2 separate regions of the Homo sapiens genome follow, and region 2 is linked to region 1. Evidence: promoter capture Hi-C in human tissues and cell types (Jung and others, 2019). All regions are on one chromosome and are shown on one strand. The core of a region is centred on a gene start or on the middle of the fragment in contact, and the rest is flanking DNA. Distances in the headings are between cores, read along the strand shown. Region 1 holds the start of EXO1 (exonuclease 1). Region 2 overlaps KMO (kynurenine 3-monooxygenase).

Evidence for each region. The method cuts DNA at HindIII sites, captures the fragments that hold promoters and counts their contacts. A contact is called where the count stands out against the background at its distance.
Region 2: a contact is called between a fragment that was not itself captured here and the fragment with the promoter of EXO1 in region 1, in 2 of the 25 tissues and cell types used here (adrenal gland and mesendoderm cells).

The regions. Positions count from the first base shown.
Region 1 is chr1:241,843,434-241,851,007 of GRCh38, reverse strand. It overlaps EXO1 (exonuclease 1), which reads right to left and starts at 2,804. Exons shown (of 16, transcript NM_130398.4): 1 at 2,655-2,804; 2 at 1,981-2,277; 3 at 1,792-1,896; 4 at 422-599. The coding sequence starts at 582. RefSeq lists an enhancer at 2,769-3,108. The HindIII fragment of the contact is 7,563 bases long and covers 1-6,702 here.
Region 2 is chr1:241,586,494-241,594,067 of GRCh38, reverse strand. KMO (kynurenine 3-monooxygenase) reads right to left here. Exons shown (of 15, transcript NM_003679.5): 11 at 7,332-7,389; 12 at 5,238-5,320; 13 at 3,955-4,056; 14 at 3,805-3,864; 15 at 1-2,115. The coding sequence ends at 1,915. OPN3 (opsin 3) reads left to right here. Exons shown (of 4, transcript NM_014322.3): 4 at 1-944. Among named protein-coding and RNA genes, the nearest start is that of CHML, 50 kb to the left of the region's middle. The HindIII fragment of the contact is 6,440 bases long and covers 805-7,244 here.

The DNA.
Region 1 (7,574 bases), core at 1,555-4,054:
CAAAAATTAGCCGGGTATGGTGGTGTGCACCTGTAATCCCAGCTACTTGGGAGGCTGAGACAGGAGAATTGCTTGAACCTGGGAGGCGGAGGTTGCAGTGAGCCAAGATTGTGCCACTGCACTCCAGCCTGAGCTAGAGATTCCATCTAAAAAAAAAAAAAAAAAAAAAAAGAATAAAGGAGATATTAATAGTCTTTGTCCATCAGTGTCTTGATACTCTGGCTTATTATAAAGAAAGAAAACTAGGCCTATTATCACAGAAGGAAGTCATCCCTGATTTGGGAATATTCTAAAACATACAACTTTTACTTCCTGATAAGTTCTGGCATTGAGTGAAAACAATCCGTTTCTGGGGGAGAAAAAAAGGCACTGTAGGTCTCATTCTTAATTGTCAAAGAATTAACATAAGGTCCAGACTTACCTATCAGTAGGTTCACCTTTGGCTAGTTTTTCAGCACAAGCAATAGCTCCTTTGTGAAGCCAGCAATATGTATCCACAGCTACTACCTGCCCTTTATACTTCCTCACATGGATGGGTTCTGAAGCTTCTTTGATAAATTGTAGCAATCCCTGTATCCCCATGGTGCCAAATTAACTACCTGATATGAAAAGAGACAGGGAGAACAGTAATATTTAAAGAAAAATACATTTATTAAAACATCTTAGACAAATGAAGAGAAAGCTTGGAGTCCAATGCAGAAATTGGTTTGTTGTTTTTTTTTTTTTTTGAGACGGAGTCTCGCTCTTTCGCCCAGGAGGGACTGCAGTGGCCTATATCGGCTCACTGCAAGCTCCGCCTCCCGGGTTCACGCCATTCTCCTGCCTCAGCCTTCCCAGTAGCTGGGACTACAGGCGCCCGCCACCGCGCCCGGCTAATTTTTTGTATTTTTAGTAGAGACGGGGTTTCACCATGTTAGCCAGGATGGTCTCGATCTCCTGAACTCGTGATCCGCCCGCCTCGGCCTCCCAAAGTGCTGGGATTACAGGCGTGAGCCACCGCGCCCGGCCAGAAATTGTTCAGATATTCAAGAATCACTGCTCTTTAATATTTTAGCTGGGCTCCTCCCTATCAAACAATTTCCATAGGGTAGAATTTACATTAATCACTAATACTACCTCTAATGCCACTTGACTGTTGCTTATTGTTTGTTTAGTCTTTCCAAAGTGCTTTTGCACTTTCACTCCTGACACATGCTTCAAGGAGCCAGGCACAAACAAAACCATGCATGCGATGGCATCGCATTGCCTCTACAAAGGGCATTAATCATAAGGGTCAACGTGCAAATTCAAATAGGAGTAGAAACTCAAAACAGTTTGTAGGAAGGTAAGTATTTCAATTAAAAAACAAAGGAAAAATTCAAAAAGAATTACAGAAATGATCCTGTACTTTTTTAGGACTGAAATTCACTGCTATTAGAACGCATTATTCTAAGCACGAACATTCTGGTAATAAACAGTGGTGGCGCCCAGGGGCAACTCCATCAGCCTCTCTGAAAGCTACCCTAAAGAACTGTGAAACTGCGTCTGCTATGCAAATACAGCTTCAAGACAAATGCTTTAACTTTCCACCCCCTTCCATTCCGGTTGCAGCCCCCTAAGCCCTTTCTATACAGAGATTCTGGAACTGTCACAACCCTTTCTGATGAAACGACCTCCCCCCACTCTACAATAAAAAGTCAGTAATGGGCACTGAGCAGTTGCTTAGCATTTCATAATACAAATCTCTCCTATCAAACGTTAAGTTTGGAAGGAAAGGAAGAAAGAAAGTACAGGATCAGGAGGCAGCTTTACCCTGTTGACACCTTATCAGAGCTCTAAAGGCTCTGGTCCAGCAGTTCTCAAATTTCAGAGGTTCTTAGACTCTCAACTCCACTCAGTGACTGGGATTCACTAGTTCTGCTGTGAATGAATTTTAAACAAAGCAGTTAATCTGGATGCAGGTGGTCCTCAAGCCACAGTTTCAGAAAAACAGTCTCTTACCTCTCAGATGATATCTAAAAAGAGTTTTCTCTCACTCCGAGGAAAACGGATATAATAGTTCATGAAATTTACATAAGTTTCTTCTGGGCCAGGCAAATATCCTCGAATAATTATTTCTTCTTTAGCGTAGTAAGAATGGCTGAGTGCGATAGTAAGAATGACTGTGTACATATCTCAGAGGTCGCATGTGGCACTCGAGGTAACAATAACAGCACCATCTTCACTTTATCCCTCTGTCTCGCGGAGATGTGCAGGCGTGGCCCCCAAGCCCATTCCAGACGACACGTTTCCTTAGGCCTGCAAAATATTATGGGAAAATGTACTTGTCAACATTTAAAGGTGGAGAGATTGCATGTAAAACCTGGACTGCCAGCTTCTGCGGAAAAATGAGGTAAGTCTGGCAACCCTGGCGCCTGCTCCAGCCCGGAATCGTCTGCTCTCTTATCTCCCTCCGTTCACTGAACTGCAGACCTCTGGTTGCCAGACGTCCCCTCGGAACAAAACACATACTCCACTCAGGCTAAGGGCTCCGCTGTTGGGTTGGGAAGATCACGCCAGACCCTCTCCTTCCCTTCCTGGAAGACCCGAATCCCGAGAGGAGGGTCGGAGGTGACGCGCAGGTCGACCCCCAAGGGAACCCACCCATTAGCCTCCGCACAGCCCGCTCCTCTCACCTTCCGAGAAGGGACTCTCCTCCTCCCCTTGAGCGGAGCCGATTGCGGTTGGAGAAACCCGCTCCGACGCCCCTAACTCACTGTGGCCAGAGCACCCACGGCCGGCAACGCAGAACACGGGTAACTTGCCTACACAGCGCGCGAAAGGCTGACCTTTCAATTTGCGCGGGTTCCTTGCGGCCCCGCCCAGAGGATGTGACGTCAACGCGTATCCCGCAACCCGGTTCCGCCTCCTGCGGCTTCCAACTCATAGGGTTGCGTCCTGAGCTCTCCGTCTCGCTGGGTAGACAGCGGCTCACTGCCATACGACTGCAGCCGCTGCTGCCGGCCCGAACTCCGTGCGGCTTCTTGAGGGCGCGAGTGGCACTGGCGCTGATGGCCGATGGTGAGCACCGCCTCGGAAGTTGGGAGTGTTTACACCCGCCGGGGCTGCTGGGCGTTGTAGTTCCCTCCTGGCTGCAGCCCCAGTTCTGGAGGCTGATGTTGAAAGAGCGCCGTCGCGCGTTGATGTTGAGGCTTTTCAAACCTGAAAAAGTTGCTCAGTCCCCCTCGGCGTCATCAGTCCCATCCTAATTCCTTCATTCTCTTTAAAACGCCCGGTTGCCTCTACAAATCGAAATTGAATTCAGTTCACGCTGGGTTCTTTTCCCCATTGCAGTAGTAGTAGTGATTAAAATCTGCCCCTACCATTTTACCTAGAACCCAGCTTCGTTTATTTTTGACATAAGTCGGGGAAAAATTAGCTATATAACAAGACCTTGAAAATGGGCCTTAGAGACAAAGACTTTAGAGGCATTTTGGACTTTCATGGTCACTTGTGGCTAGGTTTCCAATCCTCATAACACCCCAGACCTCGTCGCTGTCCTCTTAGGGATATTGTAATTTAAAAAATTGGAAGAAACCTTAGGCCAGACCACAAAGTAATGTTCTGGGCTCAAAGATCAATAGGAATGATAATGCAGACTCAATTCAAGGAATTGAAGGGGAAGAAGTGAGCACATTGTTAAACATGCTCCCCATTTGATTACGTTCTTTACATCTTTTCCTCTTTTAAAGTCTTTTTATGATCACTCTAACATCTATCATGCCAATTTTAAAGGCATCTATGATGCCTTAAATTTGTTACTAAAATTGTTGAAAAGGTGCCACATTTGGGGAATGTGTTTGGAAAAGCTGTGTTGCTTTCTCCCTGGTTCTGGTCTTTAGAGCTGGGACTAGGAGAGATGAGAAAAGTTATCTTCCCTCCCTCTTCCAAAGGCTATGGTAGACCTAACCCTAAACTAGCTTGGAGTGGACTCTTGGAGAAAGTGGGGGACAATTTCAAACTGCAGTAGATTAAAGAGGAACTTCGATGTGGGCAGCATGTGTTTGTAGAGAAGCCTTCTTACACTCATTGGACTATCCAGCTGTAGTAACTGCTTCAGTACCTAGAATCCAACCATGAATATATCACACATGGGGGTCTTAGGAAGGAACCCCAAAATCAAAAAGGTGTCCATTCCAGTGTCACTGGATCTGTCATAAAACTAACATGAGAGTTTGCTGCACTGTGAACGGCTCATGTATTTACTGTGAATTTGACTCCCAAGGTTTCAAACTGTATTCTTGGCTGCAGTGTTCAAAGACTAAAATTGGAAAAGAAAACACTAGTTACAATACATTTCACTAACAGAATATTTTTACTCTTTGGGAGGACAAAACCATTTGCATCAATGTGTGCAGTAATTTACTACTGCCTTAAGTGTGCCTGTCAGTTCCAGGTGGCATGGAGGCATAAAGAGATGTCCTGTGTCTTCAAGGAACTTAAGATCTAGTTCTGTAGACAAAACACATGTTTATGAGACAGTTAAGTCACAAATCATGATGGCATGTTATTAAATGCTGAAATAAATGGTATATCCCATATGTTTCCAGCTTAAGACTCAGTTCCAATGTTACCAGTTTCCAAATGTCTTCCCTAAGTTAGATATTTGTTTGATATGCACAAGCATTCTGTGATGGCTCTTTGGTCCTGACACTTCTCATATTCTCATTGTGTTTGAATTGTCTTTGCCCTTCAATAGACTGAAAACCTTTTGAGGTAGGGTTGCCAGATTTAGCAAATAATAACGTAGGACACCCAGAAATTTGAATTTCAGATGAACAACAGATAAATTTTTAATATATCTAATGCAATATTTGAGACATATACTAAAAGAAATCCCTGTTTATCTGAAATTTAAATTTATCTTGGCATTCTGTAATTTTATCTGGCAACCTTACTTTGAGGGCAGGGATTATGTCTATGAATTTTCACATCCCAGTAGCACTAGTGTTGATTTTAAACATTTCAAATGTGTGGACTAATACATGAATGTCCTAGGTATGGCACTATTATTATGGGTTTTCTGGGCTGCTCTTATCTTTATTTTTTTATTTTTTATTTTTATTTTTATTTTTTTTTAAGACAGAGTTTCGCTCCTGTTGCCCAGGCTGGAGTGCAATGGTGCGATCTCGGCTCACTGCAACCTCTGCCTCCTGGGTTCAAGCGATTCTCCTGCCTCAGCCTCCCAAGTAGCTGGGATTACAGGCATGCGCCACCACGCCTGGCTAATTTTGTATTTTAAGTAGAGACGGGGTTTCTCCATGTTGGTCAGGCTGGTCTCGAACTCCCAACCTCAGGTGATCCGCCCGCCTCAGCCTCCCAGAGTGCTGGGATTACAGGCGTGAGCCACCGTGCCCGGCCAGCTCTTATCTTTAAATACTGTATCTTGTTGAAATATCAGGTTGCCTGATTTTTAATTTGGAAGATACTGTCTCCATTGTTATAGGGCAGTGTTTTCTACAGTGTGGAACTTAGCCAATGACTTGGGGCCTAGTGAGAGTTGTGGGTGCCCTCTAGATGGCCTCCTGCCTTTGCCTGGTTTCAGGCAGGGTTGCTAGAACCACAGCTGAGCAGCACCTTCCCCACCACACACACACATGCACACACACACACACACACACACACACACACACACTGATGCATACACCAGTAATTTCTAAGAAGAGACATAGGAGTGGGGGTTCTTTTTAGTCAGCAGCATTAGGAAGCTTTTTCTAAAGCTCAACTTCCCTCCAAATCAGAGACATGGGAACAAGGGACAACCTCAAGTGTTGGGCAAGTCAGCATCGTCTTGTCACCTCATATGGGACTAGGTTTTTATTTTGCTCCTCTGTTAAAATGAATGTGGATAGGTGTTCAAAACAGTATGTATGCAGTGTAAAGGTGAAGATGAAGGAATTGTGCACAGTGCTGGTGACTATTACATATATATGGAACAGAATATCCTTTTTCTTCTGACTGATCATCAACGGCTCTGGTTTTCTGTTTAAGTAACTTATTTTTAGGCGCTCATTTTTGCAGCTCAATTTGATTGATTTTGATTGCATTCAATTATTTTTACATTTTTAAATTATTTTAATCGAATGACTTTGTGTCCATTGTATTTTTACGGTTATTTCTATTATGGCAAGTGACACAGTGTTAACATGAAACTTGCTTTTTAAGTAAATTTAAGTTGAAAATCGATTAAGTAAACAATAGAACAGGTGTTTTGCAGCAATGGTAAATATGAGTAAGTGAGCTTTCCGTAACAGTCATTTCTTCCATCTTTAAAATAACCCTTCAGTATTCCCCTCATTTCTCTGCTCCTGTTATCGTAAAACTTTTTGAAAAAAAAAATCCTGTACTTCCTGTCTCAAATTCCTCCATTTACTATTATAAATAGTAATATTGTATTACTATTACATTATATTATATATGTAAAACATACATACAGAAAGCATAAATCCTAAGCAAATTATCACAAAATGAACATATATTGCTTCTACTTGGTCCCTCCCAGAAGACACTTCGTAGCTCGTTTCCAATCAGATATCTCTGTCCTAACTACTAATCTGCCTTTTTACTGCAAGTGTTGCCTCGTTTGTGAAATGTATATAAAAGAAATGATGCAGTTTTTATCCTTTAGCATTTGGCCTCTTTTACTCAACATCATGTTTGTGAGATTCATCTGTATTATCGAGAGCACCTATAGTTTGTTTTTTGTTTGTATTTCAATGTAGAATTCCATTATGTAAGTACATTATAATTTATTCATTCCACTATTGATAGATATCTGAGTGGTTTCAAGATTCTATTACTACTGCTTCTGTGAACATTCTTGTAACTTCATGTGCATGTGACTTCAACTCCCACTCTTCTTGCTCTTGCCCACTCTACTTTAGCCATCTAGCCTCCGTGCCATTCTTTGAATATGCCAGGTACACTCCCACCTCTAGGGCTTTGCATACGCTGTTCCTTCTTCCCAGAATGCTCTTCCAACAGATAGCCCCGTAGCTTGGTCCTTTACTTCGCTCAGTAATACACATAGGTTTCTTCTCAGTGAGATATTCTCCAATTATGCTATTTAAAATTGCAATTCCTAGCCCTACTTTGGGATACCTAATTTTCCTTTCCCTGATTTATTTTTCTCCATGATACATACAATTGGACAAATTACATATTCTAGTTATCTATTTGTTAATTGAGCATCTCTCACCTCACTATAATGAAAGCTCTATAAGAGCAGGGATTTTTACCTATCTCCTATAACATTGTCTGGCACATAGTAAACTCCAGTAAACTTCTGGTTGAATAGACAAATGAATATTGAAATTAGCTAACAGCCTGGATCTAAAAGAGACACTGATGTTTTTAGAACTTAGATGTTTGGGCAATATAGCTGTTTTCAAAGCTGTTTTACAGTGAAATTAAACAACTCCAAAGTTATCAGGATGAGTATTATTTGAATAATCTAGGACAGAGAATGCAGAAAGAGTAAATGCTGTCCTCATTCCCTACTGCAGAGGGAAAACGATTTTAAATAGCCTCTGTTTTTGTCCTTCACCAAAAAAAAA
Region 2 (7,574 bases), core at 2,775-5,274, 260 kb after region 1:
GTCGCGTACACATGTGTGAAGTAGCTAGAACATACTGAATTTTTTTTGTACTGTTGGACTCTATTCAGTGTCATGTCCTATATCTGATCAAGTTATCAAGGAGATAATTCTAGAATGAAAAAGAAAATCCTCTTGTTGGAAACAAAAGACGTTTTATATGTGCAGTATGACAAAGAGGAGTTTCAGAGACAACTTTGAATCCTTGTCAGCCTGGAGACCAGCACCAGAGGAATCTACAAGGCAAACTCCCATATATTTGCTTCCCCCAAATTGCTGCCCCTACAGACTCAAAGCTCTTTTTCTTTGTTTTGTTGTTTCTCTAAAAATTTACTGTTCTTTGTCGATGCTATATAAGCCAGGGAGTTCTAAGACGCCAGCTCTTTGAGATTTGCTCATTCCCCTGTATTTCCCACATATATATTACATATACCCGCTAATAAATTTATGTTTGTTTTTCTCTTGTCAATCTGTCTTTTGTTATAGGGGCCCCAGCCAAGGAACCTAAAGTGGGTAGAAGGAAAAATTATTTTTTCTTTCCCTACAAACTGAACATGGATTATTAGAACTCAAGGTTTTCATTGACAATATAGAAAAGAAACACTGAATCATTTTATTTTATTGCCCAATTTTTATTTCTTATATGACTCTAGTGTTTCATCTTCATAATTAATCATGTTTGAAGGATTTCTGAGTGACTCAGCAGCCTGTTAAAGAAGGATGAACCAAAGAAAACATTTCACTAAATGTGCTTTTAAAAATCAAGTGTATTGCTGGTTCTGCTGCAGTATGTAGTCGAAGAATAAATTAGTAAATTGCTTCTGAGGGTCTGAAATTGAATAAAGTAATGGCTTTGTATTTCTATAAAAGTTGTCTCCCCTTGTTTCCTTTCCATTCTGGCACATGTAGACATTTAATTTATGAATAAAACCCTTTCCTGTCCTTCACTTAGTATGATATTAATAGCCTTTTTCTTATCTTTAGAGGGTAACTCTGGGCTGGCAGCGGTGGCTCACAACTCTAATCCCTGTACTTTGGGAGGCTGAGGTGGGCAGATCACATGAGGCCAGGAGTTTGAGACTGGCCTGGGCAGCATGGCAAGACCCGGTCTCTACTGAAAAATACCATGGTAGCCCCAGCTATTTGGGAGGCTGAAGTGGGAGGATTGCTTGAGCCCAGGAGGCAGAGGTTGCAGTGAACCCAGATCTCACCACTGCACTCCAGCCTGGTCAACAGAGTGAGACCTGATCTCTAAATACATAAATAAATAGAGATAGATAGATAGATAGATAGATAGATAGATAGATAGATAGATGATAGATAGATAGATAGATGATAGATAGATAGACGATAAACAGATAGATGATAATACTTATATTTGAAGGTGGGAAAATAAAATGAGTTCATTTTGTAAGTCTCTGGAACTCCCCTGAATTCCTTATTTCCATTTCTGGTTTTATCTAGTAAGTCTGAGCCCTGTGGTTAGGTAAGTTCCATTCACGTAATGAAAAGTGCAGTTAACATGCTAGTTAAGTTGTGATTTTTAGTCCTAGGTGTTGAGTCAATGCTGTTGCGAGTCCTATTGTGTCTTTTAAAGAAAAGGCATGATTACTGTCTTCCCTGAGGCATCTAGGGCCTTACTTTCAGAGAAGTGAAGGATCTTAGTCATTGCACTTTTATAGTTAGAATGACTCAACCTGAGTGTGTGTAATGTAGGGAAGCTGCATGTTTCATCTTTTAAAATGCACCCCCCAACCAGTAATTGCAATTAACATACAGAGATACTCTACATTCAGTTTAATTATAAGCAGAACACTATCTTCCACTAGTGAATCAAATATGGCAATGGAAACATTTTTTTCATGCTTAATTTTGGTCACAGAGAAATCATGCATTTGCTACCACAAAACCTTTCTATCACCTGCTAATGAGATTGGAAATTTGTTCTAGGGAGTCCACGGCCTTTGCGGGGAAACATGTTGTATTCCGGAAGTGAGCTATCCAGTTCCATGGTCTTCTCAAGCGGAGGAAAGATCGTGGTGACATGTAGTGTATAAGTAGGTAGGTACTGCTGATGGCTATCAGTGATCCCAAGAAAAAGAGTCCTTTGTTTATCACCTGTAAGACAGCAAGAACTCTCATTTCATTTGTCCAGAGATTAAAATCTGAAAATAGACTTCATTTTTTAACAACAAAGGGGTAAACAATGTCCTCTTTGTTCTTTAACCTGAAACAACAATTTACTTGCATGACCACCAGATCAGGAACTGATAAGATCAAGATAAAGTCAAGGATTGGGAGCCTCCCTTCTCCCTCTCTCCCAGGAAACTCATGAATCCAGGTCTTCTGTATGAAAAAAATTTAGCAGTCAGCTTTTGTCCAGCCATTAAAAAACCTTTGCAGTTTAGAAAAAGAGCTGTGAATTCTTAGAAGAGTACTGCTGTGCTGGGGCCACACATCATTCATTCCTTCTCAGAAGCTTCCCAAAAGTCTCCAGGAGAAGAGTGGTGGCCTGGTGGCCTCTGTGACTAAGACTTATGTGGAGACTAAACACCAGCTGTAAACAGTGGCCTGAGGCTCATTCCAGCCTGAGTCAGGTGCTTTCCCATGGCATCCTGGCCTATTTCTTTTCTTTTTTTTTTTTTGACAGAGAAATCTACTTGAATACTCACATGTAAAAGTTACACATCACAAGAGATTGGACAGTAGCTTAGCATAACTAACATAGCTATAGTGAAAATCATTTTTATAAAAAATAATCTAGATGTGGTCATCAGAATTTTTGGTCTGCTTAAGTTAATGTTTGAAGATTGACTTTTATCCCTCCTTGAAGGATTTGCCTGGCCTATTTCTATCCCCGCACTTACTGTCCTGCATTCTAACTGCCTGCTGGTATCTTTTCCCCTTTTAGACTTTCAGCTCCTTAAGGGTGGGGGCCCTGTTTTATTCATCTTGCACAGATAAACCTTGATTTCTTCCAATCCATTCTCCATATAGACATCTTTCTAAAATCCATACCTGAGTCTGCTGGCCTCCCTGGGCTCCCTGTTTCTCTCAAGATAATACTCCAGGTGTTTAAAGCCCCGCCTCCACCCTCTGACCATTCTCACACACTGTGCTGCCTTCCAGCTCCACTGAAATATGTTTCTCATGTGTCTTCCGCCTTCCCCTGTCCTGGCCCCTCCTGTTCTCCTCGGGGGCAGTTTATCTCTCTCCAGTGCCACTGTCTGTATCCCCTACTAGCCTCTGAGCTTTGTGAAAGGTGTGAACTGGTCATGTTCATCACCATGCCAGCTCAGTGCTATCTATGTACCAAATAAAACTGTCTGTTGAATAAATGACGTTGTAAAATCCCCAAAGTGGAAGACTAGGGAATCAGAATTCCTTCCATTTAATGGCTTCTCTAGGCCAACTGCCCAAAATGGATGTATTATAGCATTCCATTGGAATAGATCTTTTAAAAGTGATTCAGTTCTGTCTAATTTTACAAATTAAACTCATAAGAATATTGCATGAAGCAAAAATCAAGAACAGTACATCTTGCTAAAATAAAGTAAAAAGTTGAGAAATATTAGCATCAGTTTCTATCTTGAGATTCTTCCCTTCAAAAGCTCTCTTTGCCACCTCCTTGTAATGTTTTTCAGTAAGCACTGTTCCCTCTCTGTACTCAGGACAGTTTCTGTTTGGAAGGCAAACAGTTGGTGTCTGTCCCATTATTTCTGTATTTGTTGGAAACAAACATAATCATAATACTATGACATTTCAAAACACCACATTAAAAAATAAATAAAATGTAACTGTTCCAACCTTTTTTTGCCAATGCCAACGCTGCACAGCCTCATGGTATCTTATTCTGGAAAAAGTGACCTGCAGGGAAGTTTAAAAAGTATTCTTGTGTATTCTTTAACAGCTAAACAGAAAATCAAAATGAGGAAAAGTCTTCAGTCCAGACCTTACCATTGTATAGAGAGGGATAAAGGTCGATGGCATAATCGCATGAAGAAATCTCTCCATGTTCTTCTGAAAAATGAACCAGCTTGAGTTGACATGTGCTCGCATCTGCAATAATGACAGTCTTAAAGAACGCTTTTGAACAAATACAGCTATTTCTCACTGCGACTTAGTATTATTCTTCATTCCCACTCATCGCAATGCCAAACACAAAGTAGTCAAATAATTTTTTGTTTCCATAATGTCATTCCCAATCCATTTTGGTAAATGTCGGTCATATAGGACGTTGCCTCGAAAATGTACAGCAATTACACGAAACCTGCTAGGGAAGTTTATTTTGCTCAGGGTTCAATAGAGGAAGTCAATTTCAGCAGAGGGTTTGTTTAACCAGAACTGCAGGCAATCTGTGAGCTCAAAGATTTGTCTAATTTTCTGTTGCTTCCTGGTTGTTTTGTAATATTGCTTACGGCAAAAAGAGATTGTTTAAAGCTATGTTTGTCTGGACCTACTCTTTCTTTTAGGACAGATACTGTGTCGTAGCCATCCCGTTTTTAAAGGAGAAGACAAGATACATCAATAAAGCCTACAATATCTTGTAGGTTATCCTCTACCACATCTGATGCAATTTTGCTCAAGCTGAAGTCCAGTTTCTTTCTGTCTTCAGGAGAGATGGCAAATAGCTGGTCACTCTGCTTTAAATTTATCTTGTAAATCCTTTCATTTTATTATTTTAAAACTATAATCACAATCACTTACCATGAGCTTTACATGTGACTGGTTCAAAATGGAATTAATATGTTTTTTTTTCAAAGTACTAATCTTCCTGAACATGAATTTCTTTTTGGTATTATGCATTTTTTTTTAGTGCATAAGTTTCCAAAGGATAATCAATGCTACTCTAAATATGCAAGTTATAATGTTATGAGTGAAAAGGCCATTCAACATTTCTTAGATTTTCTAAATATGTTGACACATCTGAAAGTTGTATTTTCATTAAAGTAACATATTGCTAAATGTCTAAGATAAAAGCATGTGAATTATCAGAGGTTTTGTTACCTCCTAAACGTCCTTAAAGTGTAGATAGAGATAATGTGTATTGGTCATTGCCACTGGCCAGAGTCACAATCCACCCAAGTCTAAGGAATGCTATGTGTGTGTGTGTTTTCTTATCTGTAGGTATTCTTATATAGCATGCATGAGATGGGGGCTGAAGCAAAGAAAAAGAAAAGAACACTTGTTAGAATATCAGTGAACCATCTCATGGAATAAAGCCAAACCTTCTCACTCACCTCTATGTAATTGTACATGGATAGGTCTGAAATCGCGTGATCATCTGGGATTCTCAATCTTGAGAACACAGGAAGACACAAACCTGTAAGTTAAATAATACATCTTTCCAAAACCTTCTATAAAAATGTGCTGAACTCTACACAGGTCAAATTAAATGGTACGTTCACTACCAATGCTCTCGCTAATTTTTTTAAACTATAAATAACCATTCTGTATAACCAACAATCTATGACTATTGACAATACACAGAGCATTTCCTGTTGTGATTAAATAAAAATTACAACAAAATTAATCTATATTATTGCTTTATCTTTGTTCTCTAGTGCCCCAAACCAGCGTTGACAGTGTGTTCTTATGCATAAACCCTCTATCAACCTCCAACGTCATGTGTAAACCAGTCACGCGAGCACAAGGAAAGGAGGAAACAAAATATCTCTGGCTCCTGAGCATCTGAGAGAGATGACTGGGAAATAACCAAAAAAAAAAAAAAAAAAAAAAAAGAAAAAAAAGATGAGAAAATTTGTCCTGGAATTCTATGATCTCTTCAGACCCAGGCACCAGTATTCTTGGACTTTCTAAAACACCACAGCAAACATATACTATGAACTTACTTTACGGTAGGCTTTTTTTTTCTTTTTAAAACTTTATAGAAATTATTCAGTGTTCACAACTCTGAAGTTGAGAGTATCATCCCCACTTTATAGATGAAAAAGAACGGAGGCTTTAGAAAGATGAAGTGATTTGCTCAAGATCACACAGTTAATAAGTTGGCAAGTCAGGACTTGAAACTGGGTGTAAGTTTAAGGCCAGTTCTCTAGTCTATCCTTTACCTGAAACAAGTGTAAAATCAGAGGTGGCCTTTGAAAGCACGTGATGCTGGGAAGTAGGAAAAGGTTATCCAGTTCTTAGGCTGTTGTTTGTGCCTTCTTTTATATATGTAATATACAAACCCTCCATCCACCTCCATGGTCATGTGCAAACCAATCACATCAGGACTAGGAAGGAAGGGCGGGAACAAAATGCCTCTGGCTCCTCAGTATTTGACAGAGATAACTGAAAAATAATGAAAAAAAAAAAAGGAATTTATGCCGGGCATGGTGGCTCACGCCTATAATCCCAGCACTTTGGGAGGCAGAGGTGGGTGGATCACTTGAGGTCAGGAGTTCGAGACCAGCCTGGCCAACATGACGAAACCCCGTCTCTACTAAAAATACAAAAATTAGCTGGGTGTGGTGGTGTATGCCTGTAATCCCAGCTACTCTGGAGGCTGAGGCAGGAGAGGAGGCGGAGGTTGCAGTGAGCCAAGACTGAGGCCACTGAACTTCAGCCTGGGCGATGGAGTGACTCCATCTCAAAAAAAAAAGTATTAGATGCAATCTTTGATAGGGCAAAAAACACTGGAGCTTCTAAGTGTTTCTGAGGATGTGTTGTAGGGTGACTGTCCCCAACCCTCGGTCCATGGCCTGTTAGGAACTGGGCCGCACAGCAGGATGTGAGTGGCAGTTGAGATGGCATTACCGCCCAAGCTCCGCCTCCTGTCAGATCAGCAGTGGCATTAGTTTCTCATAGGAGCGTGAACCCTATTGTGAACTGCACAGGCGAGACATCTAGCTTGCACGCTCCTTATGAGAATCCAACTAACGCCTGAAGATCAGAGCAGGAACAGTTTCATCCTGAAACCATCTCCCCCCACCCCCTGTCTGTGGAAACACTGTCTTCCGTGAAACCCGTCCCTGGTGCCAAAACGTTGGGACTGTTGCTAGGAGGCGCAGGCAGAGGGTGTTACCTAGGCTGAAAAGGGAGAGAAAGCAGCCTATTTCTGCCAAGCACGGGTACTCTGAGCTTTAATCTCTGAGTGAATCACTTCATGGACCTCCACATAGAAACTTCAAAAGAAACTATGTTTCTTTTTCTGGGTGTTAGTTGTTGCTATGGGAAAACGGTGGCATAGACTATTAGTAGAAAAATATGTAATCCTGGGGAGATAATATACATTATACATCACAGGTTTGTGATCATTGAGGATCAGAAATAAGCCCACAATTAGTCAGAAGAGCTAGTACATGTCCAGTTGAGAAATTGACCTTACTTACTAAGGTCGTTACTGAATTTATCCATTAACTCATCAAATACCAAGCAGTCTTCAAAGCCCTGAAACAAGAAAAAAAAAGAGAAATAAGAAACTAGAAATAATAAAAAAGAAACCCTTATTATTGATTTTGAATAGATATTCCATTGGTGAAGATAATTCATACACTGTTTATTCTCAACTAGTACATAGCAGTTGAGTTGTCACATGGTATTGAATTATGGTTAAAAATGACCATCGGGCCTGG